5 separate regions of the Homo sapiens genome follow, and regions 2, 3, 4 and 5 are each linked to region 1. The links are contacts of gene promoters, found by promoter capture Hi-C in blood cells and fetal thymus (Javierre and others, 2016). All regions are on one chromosome and are shown on one strand. The core of a region is centred on a gene start or on the middle of the fragment in contact, and the rest is flanking DNA. Distances in the headings are between cores, read along the strand shown. Region 1 holds the start of TAGAP (T cell activation RhoGTPase activating protein). Region 2 has its middle 2.4 kb from the start of TMEM181. Region 3 overlaps DYNLT1 (dynein light chain Tctex-type 1). Region 4 overlaps SYTL3 (synaptotagmin like 3). Region 5 overlaps SYTL3 (synaptotagmin like 3).

Region 1 (2,768 bases), core at 184-2,683:
GGGAACACTGGGTGAACTCTGGCACTGTGGTGGCTTTCAGAGAGGGAGCCCCCAGCTGGAAGCCTGAAAACCAGGATCTGTCCCTAGGTCCCCACCGAGCCGCTAAGTTACAGAGCAAATTTCGACCTCTCTGTGCTTCGGTTTCCCAAAGTCTGCCCCATAATCACCTCCTTTCAGTAAAATGACAAAAGAACTGACAATGCGGAAAAGTCTTAAAATTAAAGATGCTGATGATAAATGAAGCCAAGTTATTTTAAAACTTTTTATTGAAAAATTACATAAATAGGGAAGTGTGCACATAAGCCTAGCACCACCCAGATCAAGAATGGACCATCACCAAGCCCCCCGCTGGCCCCTGGAAGTCATTACCATCCCCTCTGGGAAACTGCTACTCTTGCTTCCAACAGCACAGACGACTTTTGCTAATTTTGTGCTTTGCATTAATGGGAGCCGGCAGGATATACACTTTCACGTCTGGCTTCTTTTGCTCAGCGTCATATTATGAGATCCAACCATATTGTTGGCTATAGTCATAGGCTGTTCATTATCAGTGCTATACAACATTCATTCCCTATGTGAATGGATCACAATTTATGCATCCATTCTCGTGTCGAGGCATTTGAGTGGTTTCATATATAGCCCTTGATCTACAGAAAAGATCAGAAATTCTCTTATGCAGAAGAGTGATCCACAAATGAAATTCACCATCTCTTTCCTACTTTAAGTTGGTCTGATCAAAGGAATTTTTTTGTTTGTTTTCCTTCCGTGTCAGAACGACAGCTGCTCTGACTGTAAATTAAGTATCAATACTTTTGACCAGGAGTTACAGAAAGGAGGAGGGGGTTACTATATTGACAACTGACTCGAGGGAGTTTTCTTTCTACTTCCAAAGGAAACTAACCTGGCTTTGGACGGTGATTGTTCCTCAAGGAAGGGACTGTCTTGGGTTTCTTTCTGGTTCTGTAACAGTGTCCCACATCCAGGGGTGCTAATCAACGTGTGGTGCTGGTGGACAGAGCAGATGGCACGTGGGAGGGGAAAGAGCACCCAAACAGGATGCAAAAAGAGGCACTTGAAATTACCACTTTAGAAAATAAAGTGATGTTTATGCACAGAATAACACAATTTCTTGTTCACACATCCCACCTATGACATTAATCAGAGCCTTCACCTATGGGCTGAATGTCATGTTTTCCACTCCTAGTAGTTTACAGATTTTTTACTTTGAAGTGGAAGACACAAAAAAAAAAAAAAAAAAAAAAAAAAAAAAAGACATAGCTGCCCTAAAAGGAATGAGGAAGCGAGAGCTCTCCAGTGTCTGGCTGGCTCCGTCCGTGTGACAGCCCATGATGTTCTTTCCGGTCTCTGTAATATTCTGAATTTCCACCTGCCCGCCCCTTCGCTTATAATGCAGAGCATGTGAAGGGAGACCGGCTCGGTCTCTCTCTCTCCCAGTGGACTAGAAGGAGCAGAGAGTTATGCTGTTTCTCCCATTCTTTACAGCTCACCGGATGTAAAAGAACTCTGGCTAGAGACCCTCCAAGGGTAAGTACACTATATATTAACATGCCTAGAAATTACAAGCTGCCTCGCAAGTCACAGGTCACTCAGATCACAGGCAACAGAAAACAGCTATCCCGTGGAATATGCTCTCACTTTATAAAGTCTCAGGACAAAGCTTTGCTTCAACGTGAAGGCTGCACCTTTTTGGTGTAGGAGTTCTGTAAATGTTATCTTTGTTTCATGTTTACTATTTTAGCATCCTAGGGATATGTTTTTTTTTTTTTCCTTTTTGGATTAGATGAGAAAATCCATGCAAAGCACCTACTACGACAGCTGGCATATAGTCAGCACTCCACCAAAAAAGTTAATGTTCATGTTAATTTAAAATGTTAACGTAATTGATATCCAGATTATCTCTTGATGGAACGGAATAAATTGGTAACAACGTTTAGAGTGGTAAAGATAGTTGACTTAAATAATTTAGAAATAATTGTGTTCAGATGCTGCTCTTAACAACATACAACATCTGGTAACAGAACTGATTTTAAATGAAAACTTGTCTATGTAATAGTTTTTTCCAAAGTAAAGGCAAGTGAAAAAATAGCAAAAGAGAAAAATAAATAAATAGTTTCAAACTCTGTGCTTTGGCAAAGTGGCGCTGAAAGTGGCCTACTGTGTGAGTCCCTCCTAACTCCTTTCCATGTGATTCGTTGTAGACAGAGGCACAGCCACACGGGAGTGAAATCCACCCCTGGACAGTCAGCCGCAATACTGATGAAGCTGAGAAGCAGCCACAATGCTGTGAGTGCCCCTCTCACATTCATTCATTCACGTTTCCTACAGGCAAGGGCCAAAAGATATTTACCTAATTTTATTTTTTCTCTTTTAGTCAAAAACACTAAACGCCAATAATATGGAGACACTAATCGAATGTCAATCAGAGGTAAGAAAGCAATTTTTAAGACTTTTTATCTGTACTGTGAGAAGGTGGAAAACTTTGTTTTAATTGAATATTATTTGGGTTGAATAGTAATTATAAGAGTAGTAAACTAACATCACACATGTAGTAAATTAAGCACATTAATTAGGATCTTATATGATGACAATCAAGACCTTAATATTGCTTCTAGAAGCTAGAAAAAACATCAATGCACTCTACTGACTTCATTTTTAATATGAATAAAATGCTGTATGTGTGTTTTGTGGGGAAAGACTCGATAGGTTTCTTCAGTCACTATATTTAACTGAAATAAAAATGTTTTTAG
Region 2 (2,768 bases), core at 130-2,629, 490 kb after region 1:
TCATTAGTGCTCTGAATCCTAAACCGCAACTCTTCAAGGAATAACAAAAGATTATTTCTTAAGTTCTTTTCATACATAAGCAGAGGGAAAGGGTTCTTCATAGCAACAAGACCGGAGAACAGAAACTGGGTACCTGCAGGGACAGACTGTTCACAGGGACGTGGGGCGCGGGAAGGGGTGAGTCGGAGGGAGTTCTATGAGCTAGAGCAGGGGTCCCCAACCCCGGAGCCTGTTAAATTACAGACGTGAGCCACCGCAACCAGCCCAAACATGCGTTTTCATGCAACACCTTCTGTTAAATGTTTAGGCCTGAGGATGCCTCCCTACTTGAGTCCTTACATAAGGAGCTGCAGCCTGGCATAGTTAACATAAAAGAGAAGACACCCTAATTGAGGAGGATGCTTTTGTAACAAACAGCTGAGTCTCAGCCAATCACAGCCAGTGAGCTTCTGTCATTGGCAGGTGGTTAGCTGATTCAAATAAGCTAGAACATAAACCTGTAACCAGTTAAGCTGTCTCTGCGCCTCAGTTCCACTTTCTGTCCATAAATGTTGTCTAACCACGTTGCAGCCCCAAAGTCCTTTGAACCTGTTGGTTCTGAGGGCTGCCCGATTCTAGAATCATGAAGAAAAGCTACTTAGGATCTTTAAATTTGCTGTCATTTTGTCTTTCGACACTTCTGATTCTAAAATGTTGGAAACTAATTCGAAAAAATATCTTAAACCCTGGGAGGGACTAAACAAAGCACATTTGCTGGCCACATTTGCCTAGAGGCAGCCAGTATCTACCTCCAGCCCAGAGCAGCATGAGATGATGTGGAAATCCCTGCTCTGTGCCAGCTGCCTGGTCTCTCCTGAGGCATCTCCAGCGAGAGGAAACTGTCACCACCCCGAGGACCCCTGGCCCTCACTGTGTGCATTTGACTCCAAACTACCTCCTGGCAATTCCTTCCTGTCAGATCTCCCTGGATTTGCTGTCCAGCGTCACCCAGGTCAGCATGAGCCCTCTCCCAACACTCCTTCAAGGATGTGAACAACCACATGGCCCTCAGCTCCTCTTCTCCCGTCATACTCGTTTTCTCATTTATTTGTTCTTCAAACATTAATGGAGCAGTGTGTGTGTGCCAGGAACAACTCTCAGCTCTGGAAACACAACACGAATAGACAGATGAGGTCCCTGTCCTTTTCTAGTCAAGAACAAACAATAACCTAAATAATTACTTAATTGACCGGGCATGGGCATGGTGGCTCACGCCTATAATCCCAGCACTTTGGGAAGGTGAGGCGGGGATCACCTGAGCTCAGGAGTTCAAGACCATCTTGGCCAATATGGCGAAATCCATCTCTACTAAAAATACAAAAATTAGCTGGGCGTGATGGCGGGTGCCTGTAATCCCAGGTACTTGGGAGGCTGAAGCAGGAGAATTGCTTAAACCCAGGGGGTGGAGCTTGCAGTGAGCCAAGATCACGCCACTGCACTCCAGCCTGAGCAACAGAGCAAGACTCTGTCTCAAATAAATAAATAAATAAATAAATAAATAATTACAGCTGTGATAGAAAAGGAAATGAAAGGTGCTATGATCATGTTATGAAAAGGGGAAAGGGACCCAAACTATTCTGGGCTCTAAGAAGCCTGGTGTGATCTATCAGCCATTTCTCACATGACCTGTTTGTTTTTGAGACAGAGTCTCCCTGTCACCCAGGCTAGAATGCAGTGGCGCAATCTCGGCTCACTGCAGCCTCTGCCTCCCACTCAAAAGATCCTCCGGCCTCAGTCTCCCATGTAGCTGAGACTACAGGTGTGCACTAACACAACCAGCTAATTTTGTATTTTTTGTAGAGACAAGGTTTCACTATGTTGTCCAGGCTGGTCTTGAACTCCTGGGCTCAAGCAGTCTGCCTGCCTCAGCCTCCCAAAGTGCTGGGATCCTAGGAGGTGCACCGCCTTTGGAGATAAGCTACTGTGAAAGTTGTCAGAATTAAAATGGAGTCACTTGTATTAAAAACAGGCCAGGTGCAGTGGCTCATGCCTATAATCCCAGCACTTTGGGAGGCTGAAGAGCACGGATCACTTGAGCTCAGGAGTTTGAGACCAGCTTGGCCAACAAAATACAAAAATTACCTGAGTGTGGTGGCAGGTGCCTGTAATCCCAGCTAGTCATGAGGCTGAGGCAAGAGAATCACTTGAACCCAGGAGGCAGAGGTTACAGTGAGCCAAGATGGCGTCACTGCACTCTAGCCTGGGCAACAGAGCGAGACTCCATCTCAAAAAAAATACCAAAAACAATCCTGACAAATAGAGCCAGAGAACACCATGAAGAGGATTCTCGTGCATAAATGCTTGATAACAAAAACCATAACAAAAGACTATAAAAACCATAACCTTGCACAAAGACCATCGCAATCTTACACTTTTGCGAGGACATCTGCCCAGTAACTGCCTGTCCAACGCGAGACTGGCATCCCCCTTGTGAGTGATCCTTGTAGCCAAGAATAATTAACTCAAAACAATTATGTAATCCTCCCCATTGTTCCTTTAAAAACCTTCATCTTTCTATACCTCCCTGAAAAGGCACATAGTTCACTATGGCACATATATTCCCATTGCAATGCCCTATTCCTGGATAAATATCATTTCTTTTAGAGAGCCTCTTTGTTTGTTATTTAGGTTGACGCAAATGTGTCAGAAATGGAATCGGGAAAAGGATCACTACGGGAAGGAAGTGATGATTCTTAGAACGGGTGTGTGGTACTCACTTGAGCCCTCTG
Region 3 (2,768 bases), core at 115-2,614, 410 kb after region 1:
ATGTATTAATAGTAGTGAACATGAAATGTGATTATTAGGTCAAAATGTGTAAATAATTTGACAGACTATGAATTTTTGAAGCAAATTTCAAACTTATTTAAATGAAATATAATGCTATTAAAAGTATATTTGCAAAGGCACCCTCATGATTAAAAATAAACTTTTCATAAATCACTTCTTGGGGTGCCGTCAGTTCCTGATTGAAAGGTGGTGTGGGTGCATTTGGTTAACCGGGACGCGCTTTGTGCTTTGTTTTCTAGGCTATAGAAAGCGCAATTGGTGGTAACGCTTATCAACACAGCAAAGTGAACCAGTGGACCACAAATGTAGTAGAACAAACTTTAAGCCAACTCACCAAGCTGGGAAAACCATTTAAATACATCGGTAATGGAGTCTTGTTTCTTTTATATTTGCGGGATGGTTTTTTAACACTGATCAGAGGGGCATCCAGTACCAGAAACAACAGCTAACGTGGCTCAACTCAAGGAAGGCTCCTGGTGGGAGTCGGTCGTGTGTGTAGTATACGTTAGCGTACGCTTGACCATTTGGCTGCTGGTACAATTGCAGATCGTATGTGAAGCGGGATCTTACAGGAGGTCCCATCAGATGCTTTTAGAACAAGTGAAGCATAGAGGAAGTGTGGACAGCCCCCAGCTGACAGTGGCTCAACTTAGAATTTTTCAACTTTGATGGATTTACCAGGGTATTAAGTGCATTTGCAACTTACATTTTCATATATTGTTGATTTATGATGGGTTTATGGGATGTTGTAAGTCAAGGAGCACCTATAATTTGTCAATATAGTGAGACAAGGCAATCTGTCCCTATAATTTTTATCGAGAACATCAACCACGTGGAGCTACATACATTGTACGTTTGCTAAAAGTGGACAGAATGACATTTGTGTTACCCAGTAGACTTCTCTAACAAAAATTTGTTTTAACTTAAGTGACCTGTGTAATTATGCAGAAGAATGGAGCTGGATTACACACAGCAAGTTCCTGCTTCTGGGACAGCTCTACTGACGGTATGATTTTCATTCATGTTTGTGAAGTTTTGTTGTGTGAAATATATGACTGGAAGTTTCCTATCTTTGAATGCAATGCATGTTTATCACCTTTTAAAACATTTAATAATAGACTTGCCAAGGTTCTTTGTGTAGCATAGAGATGGGTACTTGAATGTTGGCCTTATTGTGAGTAAAACGTCGTCCCCCAGCTTTCCCTGCCGTAAATGCTGCTCTCTTCCCTCCCGCAGGGAGCTGCACTGTGCGATGGGAGAATAAGACCATGTACTGCATCGTCAGTGCCTTCGGACTGTCTATTTGACCTGCAGTCCAGCCTATGGCCTTTCTCCTTTTGTCTCTAGTTCATCCTCTAACCACCAGCCATGAATTCAGTGAACTCTTTTCTCATTCTCTTTGTTTTGTGGCACTTTCACAATGTAGAGGAAAAAACCAAATGACCGCACTGTGATGTGAATGGCACCGAAGTCAGATGAGTATCCCTGTAGGTCACCTGCAGCCTGCGTTGCCACTTGTCTTAACTCTGAATATTTCATTTCAAAGGTGCTAAAATCTGAAATCTGCTAGTGTGAAACTTGCTCTACTCTCTGAAATGATTCAAATACACTAATTTTCCATACTTTATACTTTTGTTAGAATAAATTATTCAAATCTAAAGTCTGTTGTGTTCTTCATAGTCTGCATAGTATCATAAACGATTTCTTCATAGTGAGTGGCTACAGAATCTATACAACCAGACCAGGCGCAGTGGCTCACACCTGTAATCCCACCACTTTGGGAGGCTGAGGCAGGCGGATCATGAGGTCAGGAGATCAAGACCATCCTGTCTAACACGGTGAAACCCCGTCTCTACTAAAAATACCAAAAATTAGCCAGGTGTGGTGGCGGGCGCCTGTAGTCCCAGCTACTCGGGAGGCTGAGGCAGGAGAGTGGCATGAACCCAGGAGGCAGAGGTTGTAGTGAGCCAAGATCGTGAGCCAAGTTCCCGCCACTGCACTCCAGCCTGGGTGACAAGAGCAAGAGTCCGCCTCAAAAAAAAAAAAAAAAAAAAAAAAAAAAAATATATATATATATATATACAACCAAAAAAAAAAAAGTTCTGCTGTGGTCCTCTCCATGATGTACTCATTTTACCCGTGGGACCAGGATCCTGACGGCTCTGCTGGGTTCTGGTTAGATTCCTACCCCTCGGCATCACACCTCCCATTCTTAAGCCCTCCTCTTCTAGAGGTGAAGGGGTGGGAGGTGGGCAAACCAATTTCTATTCTCTTAGCCAGAGAGCTCTAACTCACACTTGGCCCAAAGCTGTAACACCTTAACTGTTAATCCTGTGTTCTCTGTAGGGCTCACAAATTGTCTTAGTACTTCAGAGCTTACAAAATGGTTTTCACAATCATTCATTCTGTGTCTTCAACAATTTGCAGTCATTTAAAAATCTCAGAAAATGTGTTTGGAGGTTATCTGATTGGTTTAAAGTCACACATCCAAGTTGGGAGCTGGGCCCAAACCCACGCCTTGTCTCCATCTTGAGTGCTCTTCCCCAGGCCACATTAGACATGGCAATAAAGATACCTCCGTGCCTGCCTGCTGAAATGGAAAAGCCCTGCCGTTGTCTCCAAAGCCGCTTTATTAAAGCATTTATGTCTGCAAGGCCAAATTAACTCCACACACAAAGAGCAAACAAATCAAGACACATAGAAGTGAATATTAAAAATTTATTAACATTTCCCAGAAAGGTAGTGTC
Region 4 (2,768 bases), core at 93-2,592, 360 kb after region 1:
TAGAGACAGGATCTCACTATGCTGCCCAGGCTAGTCTTGAACTCCTGGGCTCAAGCGATCCTCCTGCTTTGACCTCCCAAAATGCTGGGATTACAGGCATGAGCCACTGAGCCTGGCGTCTAGTTTTTTACGTGAATGTAATTTGAAATCATGCTTCAAAGCTCAGAATGTAATGGGGGCCAGAGTGTGGGAAGAAGGAAATTTGTGTACCCTGCCAGCCTGTTGTAAATAAGCACACACTCCCAGAGGGTAATTTGGCAAAACATCAAAAGCCTTTCAAGTATTCATACACTTGACCAATCATTCTTCTAAGAATTTACCCCCCAAAAATAAACAGACATGTCAAAATACCTGTACAAGACGTTCATCACAGAGTTATCTATAACATGAAAAATCAAATACAGTGATATACTCACAGACACTCGGGAACAGGTTAAATAAACTATAGTGCATATATTTGGTGTATTTTATGGAGTCATCAATACATTTTGGAAGAAGTCTTAATAACATAGGAAAATGTTTATGCCAAGTTGAATTGTAAAAGCAAAATAAAACCACATAGAGTCTGATCACAATACATTTGAAATTGGATAAGTCTATCTGTGCACACACATATACACAGGCTTACCTAGAAAGAAGGCTGGGAGTGTGCAGGTGTGTACACGTGCATGTAATTTACAGTAGTTTGGGATTGTGGTAGTATTTCCATTACATCTAAATACTATTCTGTGTTTCCCAAATGCTTGCAAGGTTTGCATTACTTCTGTAATCAGAAAGTAAGTAACTTCCTTTCAAAGAGAAAAGGAAGCTCCCTCTCTTCACAGAATAGAAGATGGACCAAGGGGGAAGCAGTTAGGAGCTGCTACGTTGGAAGTGAGAATGAAGGGCAGAGGAAGATTCCAGAGACTCAGGAGGCAGAAATGTCAGGATTTGCTGACTGACCAGATGTAGCGGCAGAATGAGGAACAAAGGAGTCAAGTTTGATTCTCAGGTCTGTGGATTTGGAGACAGAGTGAGAGGTGTCGCCATTCTCCCAAGACAAGGAACACAGGATTTGGTAGCACACAGACGGTCCCAGTGATTCTTGCTTCCTGATATTCAGACCCTTTGTCCTCTCTGACTAGGGCTGACCTGTGGGACCCATAGGGCATAGCAGAAATGACAGGGTGTGGCTTCTGAAGCTAGACCATAAAAGATATTGTGGGCTCTGCTTTTCTCTCTCTTGGATCACTTGCCCTGGGAGAAGCCAGCCGCCATGTCATGAGGACACTCAAGCAGCCCTGTGGAGATATCCCCATGGTGAGGAACCAAGTCCTCCTCCCAATACCAGCAGTCACTGGCCAGGTATGAGGGTAAGCCCCAAGAGCACAGATCCCCCAGCCCCAGGCGAGCCTTCCACTGAAGACAGAAACTGTCAAAGAATGTTACTTGATTTATGTCACTAGGTTTGAGGGGAATTTGCTATACAGCAATAGATAACCAGTGCGTGGAAAGAGGCACAGACTGGAGCTGTCTGTACACTTTTGTGGTTTAAACCACCATCTAGTTTTTCTAACTTCTGCTCAGGATATAGAGGGCTGGAAAGAGTATTGCCGGTACCATGACAACAAAAACACTAGAGAACATGCAAAACCACTTTTTCCGGAACACATCAGAGAATTGAGGTTGCAGTTGCCTCCCTATTAGGGTCCAGTGGGGGCTTCCAGAGGGAGACCAGGGCCAGGAGGAGGGAGAAGGGGCTCATGCCTTCCTTCCGACCTGTGTCTGGCCAGCATCAGCTCAACAGGGTCGGAGGGTGTCTGCCTCCTGCAGCTGCTAGCTCTGTTCTCTCACTATTCCCTTTTTGCCTCCAATTCCTGTCTAACCAATCCCTAAAGTAAATTCTTATTCAAATAACCAGACAGTTTCTATTTCCCTAAGTGGATCTTAACTGCTGCAGCACAAATTCAATTCAACTCCTCAATGACTGCACCTGGTTCTCTTTTAGGGCCACAAATAGGAGCGTGGTGGAATTCCTGCCTGTCCACCTAAACCTCTGTCACCTGATCCTTGTTACCTTTCCTGACGCACCCGCTGCAAACTCCACCCAACCTGGTCTGGCTCATAGCACTACTTGTGTGCTCCTAACCTGGCATTTTCCCCCATAGTTCCATGCCTCTTACCCCAACTCTACTGAAACAGGACAATGGGAAAATGAGGCACCCTGGCATTTGAGGAAGCATTGTAGAGAAGGAGGGAAAGTTAGGGCTTTTCTGGTGTTTATTTTATACATTGATAGAAACGACATCAGCAAAAAAGAATGATTTATGCTGAGGTTGATCTTCCTGACCCTGGTTTGTTTGTCCTTACTGAAGTTTTTATTCTTAAAGTTATAAGGCAAGAAAGAAAACCCTAAGACATCAGTCTCACCTCTTTCCTAATTCCCTTTTTATCTTAAGTCACCTTGATAACATACTTCTCCCACTCACTCAGGAGACATGAAGTGCTGAAAAGATGACAAGATGGTAACGTGTGTGCACAAACACACACACATACATTCATGCACACATGAAAACTACTTACCTGAAATAATGATGCTAGAACTTCTAACGACGTAGAAAACTTTTTGAGTGAAGCAGATGTCTGCACTTAGCTGGCATTGAGAAATGACAAACTTCACCTCCTACAGCACTACTGTTTATAAGCTAGGAATTGATGTGGAAAAGGGTAGAGTCTACCTTCTGAAGAAGGCTCCAGCCCACCAACAAAAAGGTTTTGTTTTTGTTTGT
Region 5 (2,768 bases), core at 153-2,652, 340 kb after region 1:
GGACAGTAAGAAAATCAGATGGGCTGGCCTTTGGGAGGGCAAATAGCATGTGATGTTAAGCTCTCAACACCAAGCCCCAAGCCTCAAAGGAAGAAGGCAGCCCCTAGATCAGGGTCCTTAGCCAGGCTGGCCATAGCGAGTGCAGGAGTCTTTGAAATCATGGCTAAAGTTCCGAGTCCACCTGCCTGTGTGCATTTTCTGGGGTTCATCTGGGGGACATCTGGCTTTCACAGGATTCTATAAGGCACCTGTGACCCTTCCCCTCCCCATTAAGAAATACTTCCCTAAGACAGAATGAAAAGGTACAACACAGTCTTGCCTGAAGCCCGGGCACTCAACTAGTAGGACCAGCTGGTCAGGGACCAAAGCTAGCACCTGCAGGAGCCCCCTGAGAGAAAACATCCAGGTCCAAGCAAAAAACAGCCTGACTGCAGTGTGCTGGCCATGGAAGCAAGAGAAAAACAGCCACGCTGCTCATCCTGCCCATCCTGGGGCGAGCACAGACCTGGGAGACAGCTGGTGCACAGCAGTCTGCGGGCGGCAATATACCACAGGGTGCTCCTGTCTCTGGATCCCCCTGCCCTATGTGGCCTTACAGCCATCACTGTCACCCTGTTCCTGGGTCCCCCATGCCCTACGTGGCCTTACAGCCCTCACCTATCACCCTGTCCCCAGGTCTATGTGACCTTACAGCCCTCACTGTCACCCTGTCCCCAGGTCTATGTGACCTTACAGCCCTCACTGTCACCCTGCCCCGAGTCCCTCCTGCTCTATGTGACTTTCCAGATCTCACTGTTACCCTGCCCCCAGGTCCCCCCCCGCTGCTCTATGTGACCTTACAGCCCTCAGTGTTACCCTGCCCCGGGTTCTTCCTGTCCTACGTGGCCTTATAGCCCTGTCACCCTGTCCCCAGGTCCCTCCTGCCCTATGTGACCTTACGGCCCTCAGTGTTACCCTGCCCCGGGTTCCTCCTGTCCTACGTGGCCTTACAGCCCTCACTGTCACCCTGCCCCGGGTCCCTCCTGCCCTATGTGGCCTTACAGCCCTCACTGTCACCCTGTCCCCAGGTCCCTCCTGCCCTATGTGGCCTTACAGCCCTCACTGTCACCCTGTCCCCAGGTCCCTCCTGCCCTATGTGGCCTTACAGCCCTCACTGTCACCCTGTCCCCAGGTCCCTCCTGCCCTATGTGGCCTTACAGCCCTCACTGTCACCCTGCCCTGGGTCCCTCCTGCCCTATGTGGCCTTACAGCCCTCACTGTCACCCTGTCCCCAGGTCCCTCCTGCCCTATGTGGCCTTATAGCCCTCACTGTCACCCTGCCCCGGGTCCCTCCTGCCCTATGTGGCCTTACAGCCCTCACTGTCACCCTGCCCCGGGTCCCTCCTGCCCTATGTGGCCTTACAGCCCTCACTGTCACCCTGCCCTGGGTCCCTCCTGCCCTATGTGGCCTTACAGCCCTCACTGTCACCCTGCCCTGGGTCCCTCCTGCCCTATGTGGCCTTACAGCCCTCACTGTCACCCTGCCCTGGGTCCCTCCTGCCCTATGTGGCCTTACAGCCCTCACTGTCACTCTGTCCCTGGTTGTGGCAACAGTATCCTGAGGCACAGTCACCAAAAAGCCACATCCCTCTTAGAGAATCTGAGGCTATCACACTACCACCTGGAACCCTTCAGTGACTCCCTATGGCGTGGTCTGAAGTCCAGGCCCACGTGGCTTCCGGGGTGCCCCACCCTGCGGGGTCACCCCTCCGCCTGCAGGCCTTGCCCTTTCACTCCAGCAAACCAATTGTCCCTTATTGCCCTGCCTACCCGGTGAGGCCGGCCCTGCCTGCACGATTACTGTCACCCCCACCTCGTCTCCTCCTGCTATCCCCCACGGGCAGTTCTGCCTCAGGTCCACATCTCAGACCCCAGCTAGGAAACCTCCGCTTCGGCCCGGGTCGCAAATCCCCCGCGTCCCCGCTGCGGCTCCTGCACGGACCGGGCGTGCGCGTGGCTTTCTGCTGCCCCCTGCCGGCTGCAGCGACGCGGGGCACAGGCGGGGCCTGGGTCAAGGCTGGAGAGGGAACGTTGCACTGTGCTGGCCCCAGGGAGGGGCCCGTCACAGCTGCTCAATTCCGCCCTATGACAGCAGCCACAGACAGTAATAAAGGGCAGGCGTGCCCGTTCCCACGAAACTTCATGGGCACTGAAATTTGAATGTGTCACAAAGATTATTCTTTTGTTTTTTTTTTTAACCATTTAAAAATGTAAAACCCGGCCAGGTGTGGTGGCTCACATCTGTAATCCCAGCACTTTGGGAGGCTGAGGCAGGCGGATCACTTGAGGCCAGAAGTTCGAGACTAGCCTGGCCAACATGATGAAACCTCGTCTCTACTAAAAATACAAAGATTAGCCTAGCCGGGCATGAGGTCACACGCTTGTAATCGCAGCTACTCGGGAGGCTGAACTCAAGAGGCAAAGGTTGCAGTGAGCCCAGATTACACCACTGCACTCCAGCCTGGGAGATAGAATGAGACTCCATCTCAAAATAATAATAATAATAATAATAATAATAATAATGATAATAATATAAAACCCACTCTTAGTTCACAGGACATATGAAAGCATGCAGGGGGACCCGCAGGTCCCACTCTGCCCCCTGCCTCACTGCCCCAGTTGTGGGCTGTTGCTCTCAGCAGGGCAGGGGTTGCTAGAGACACAGAGCCCCAGGCAGCCTCCAGCCTGCAGAGCCCCAATCCCATTGGAGCAAGATCCGGGCAGATTTG

Evidence for each region. The method cuts DNA at HindIII sites, captures the fragments that hold promoters and counts their contacts. A CHiCAGO score of 5 or more calls a contact.
Region 2: a contact is called between a fragment that was not itself captured here and the fragment with the promoter of TAGAP in region 1, in 2 of 17 cell types (neutrophils and non-activated CD4 T cells). The highest score is 5.9, in neutrophils.
Region 3: a contact is called between a fragment that was not itself captured here and the fragment with the promoter of TAGAP in region 1, in 6 of 17 cell types (total CD8 T cells, non-activated CD4 T cells, neutrophils and 3 more). The highest score is 8.1, in total CD8 T cells.
Region 4: a contact is called between a fragment that was not itself captured here and the fragment with the promoter of TAGAP in region 1, in 9 of 17 cell types (neutrophils, naive CD8 T cells, naive CD4 T cells and 6 more). The highest score is 11.2, in neutrophils.
Region 5: a contact is called between a fragment that was not itself captured here and the fragment with the promoter of TAGAP in region 1, in 7 of 17 cell types (naive B cells, M2 macrophages, fetal thymus and 4 more). The highest score is 6.2, in naive B cells.

Annotation. Positions count from the first base shown.
Region 1 is chr6:159,043,656-159,046,423 of GRCh38, reverse strand. It overlaps TAGAP (T cell activation RhoGTPase activating protein), which reads left to right and starts at 1,433. Exons shown (of 10, transcript NM_054114.5): 1 at 1,433-1,545; 2 at 2,220-2,304; 3 at 2,393-2,446. The coding sequence starts at 2,278. The HindIII fragment of the contact is 8,846 bases long and covers 1-1,680 here.
Region 2 is chr6:158,556,279-158,559,046 of GRCh38, reverse strand. It overlaps a transcript of TMEM181 not described here. Among named protein-coding and RNA genes, the nearest start is that of TMEM181, 2.4 kb to the left of the region's middle. The HindIII fragment of the contact is 3,429 bases long and covers 1-2,768 here.
Region 3 is chr6:158,635,387-158,638,154 of GRCh38, reverse strand. DYNLT1 (dynein light chain Tctex-type 1) reads left to right here. Exons shown (of 5, transcript NM_006519.4): 3 at 261-384; 4 at 950-1,027; 5 at 1,258-1,681. The coding sequence ends at 1,328. TMEM181 (transmembrane protein 181) reads right to left here. Exons shown (of 17, transcript NM_001376852.1): 17 at 2,726-2,768. Among named protein-coding and RNA genes, the nearest start is that of DYNLT1, 8.0 kb to the left of the region's middle. The HindIII fragment of the contact is 4,116 bases long and covers 1-2,768 here.
Region 4 is chr6:158,685,831-158,688,598 of GRCh38, reverse strand. All of the region lies in intron 6 of SYTL3 (synaptotagmin like 3), which reads right to left. Among named protein-coding and RNA genes, the nearest start is that of SYTL3, 37 kb to the right of the region's middle. RefSeq lists a silencer at 1,356-1,556. The HindIII fragment of the contact is 8,716 bases long and covers 1-2,768 here.
Region 5 is chr6:158,703,617-158,706,384 of GRCh38, reverse strand. The region is part of intron 6 of SYTL3 (synaptotagmin like 3); the gene reads right to left. Among named protein-coding and RNA genes, the nearest start is that of SYTL3, 55 kb to the right of the region's middle. RefSeq lists an enhancer at 1,486-1,535. The HindIII fragment of the contact is 2,954 bases long and covers 1-2,768 here.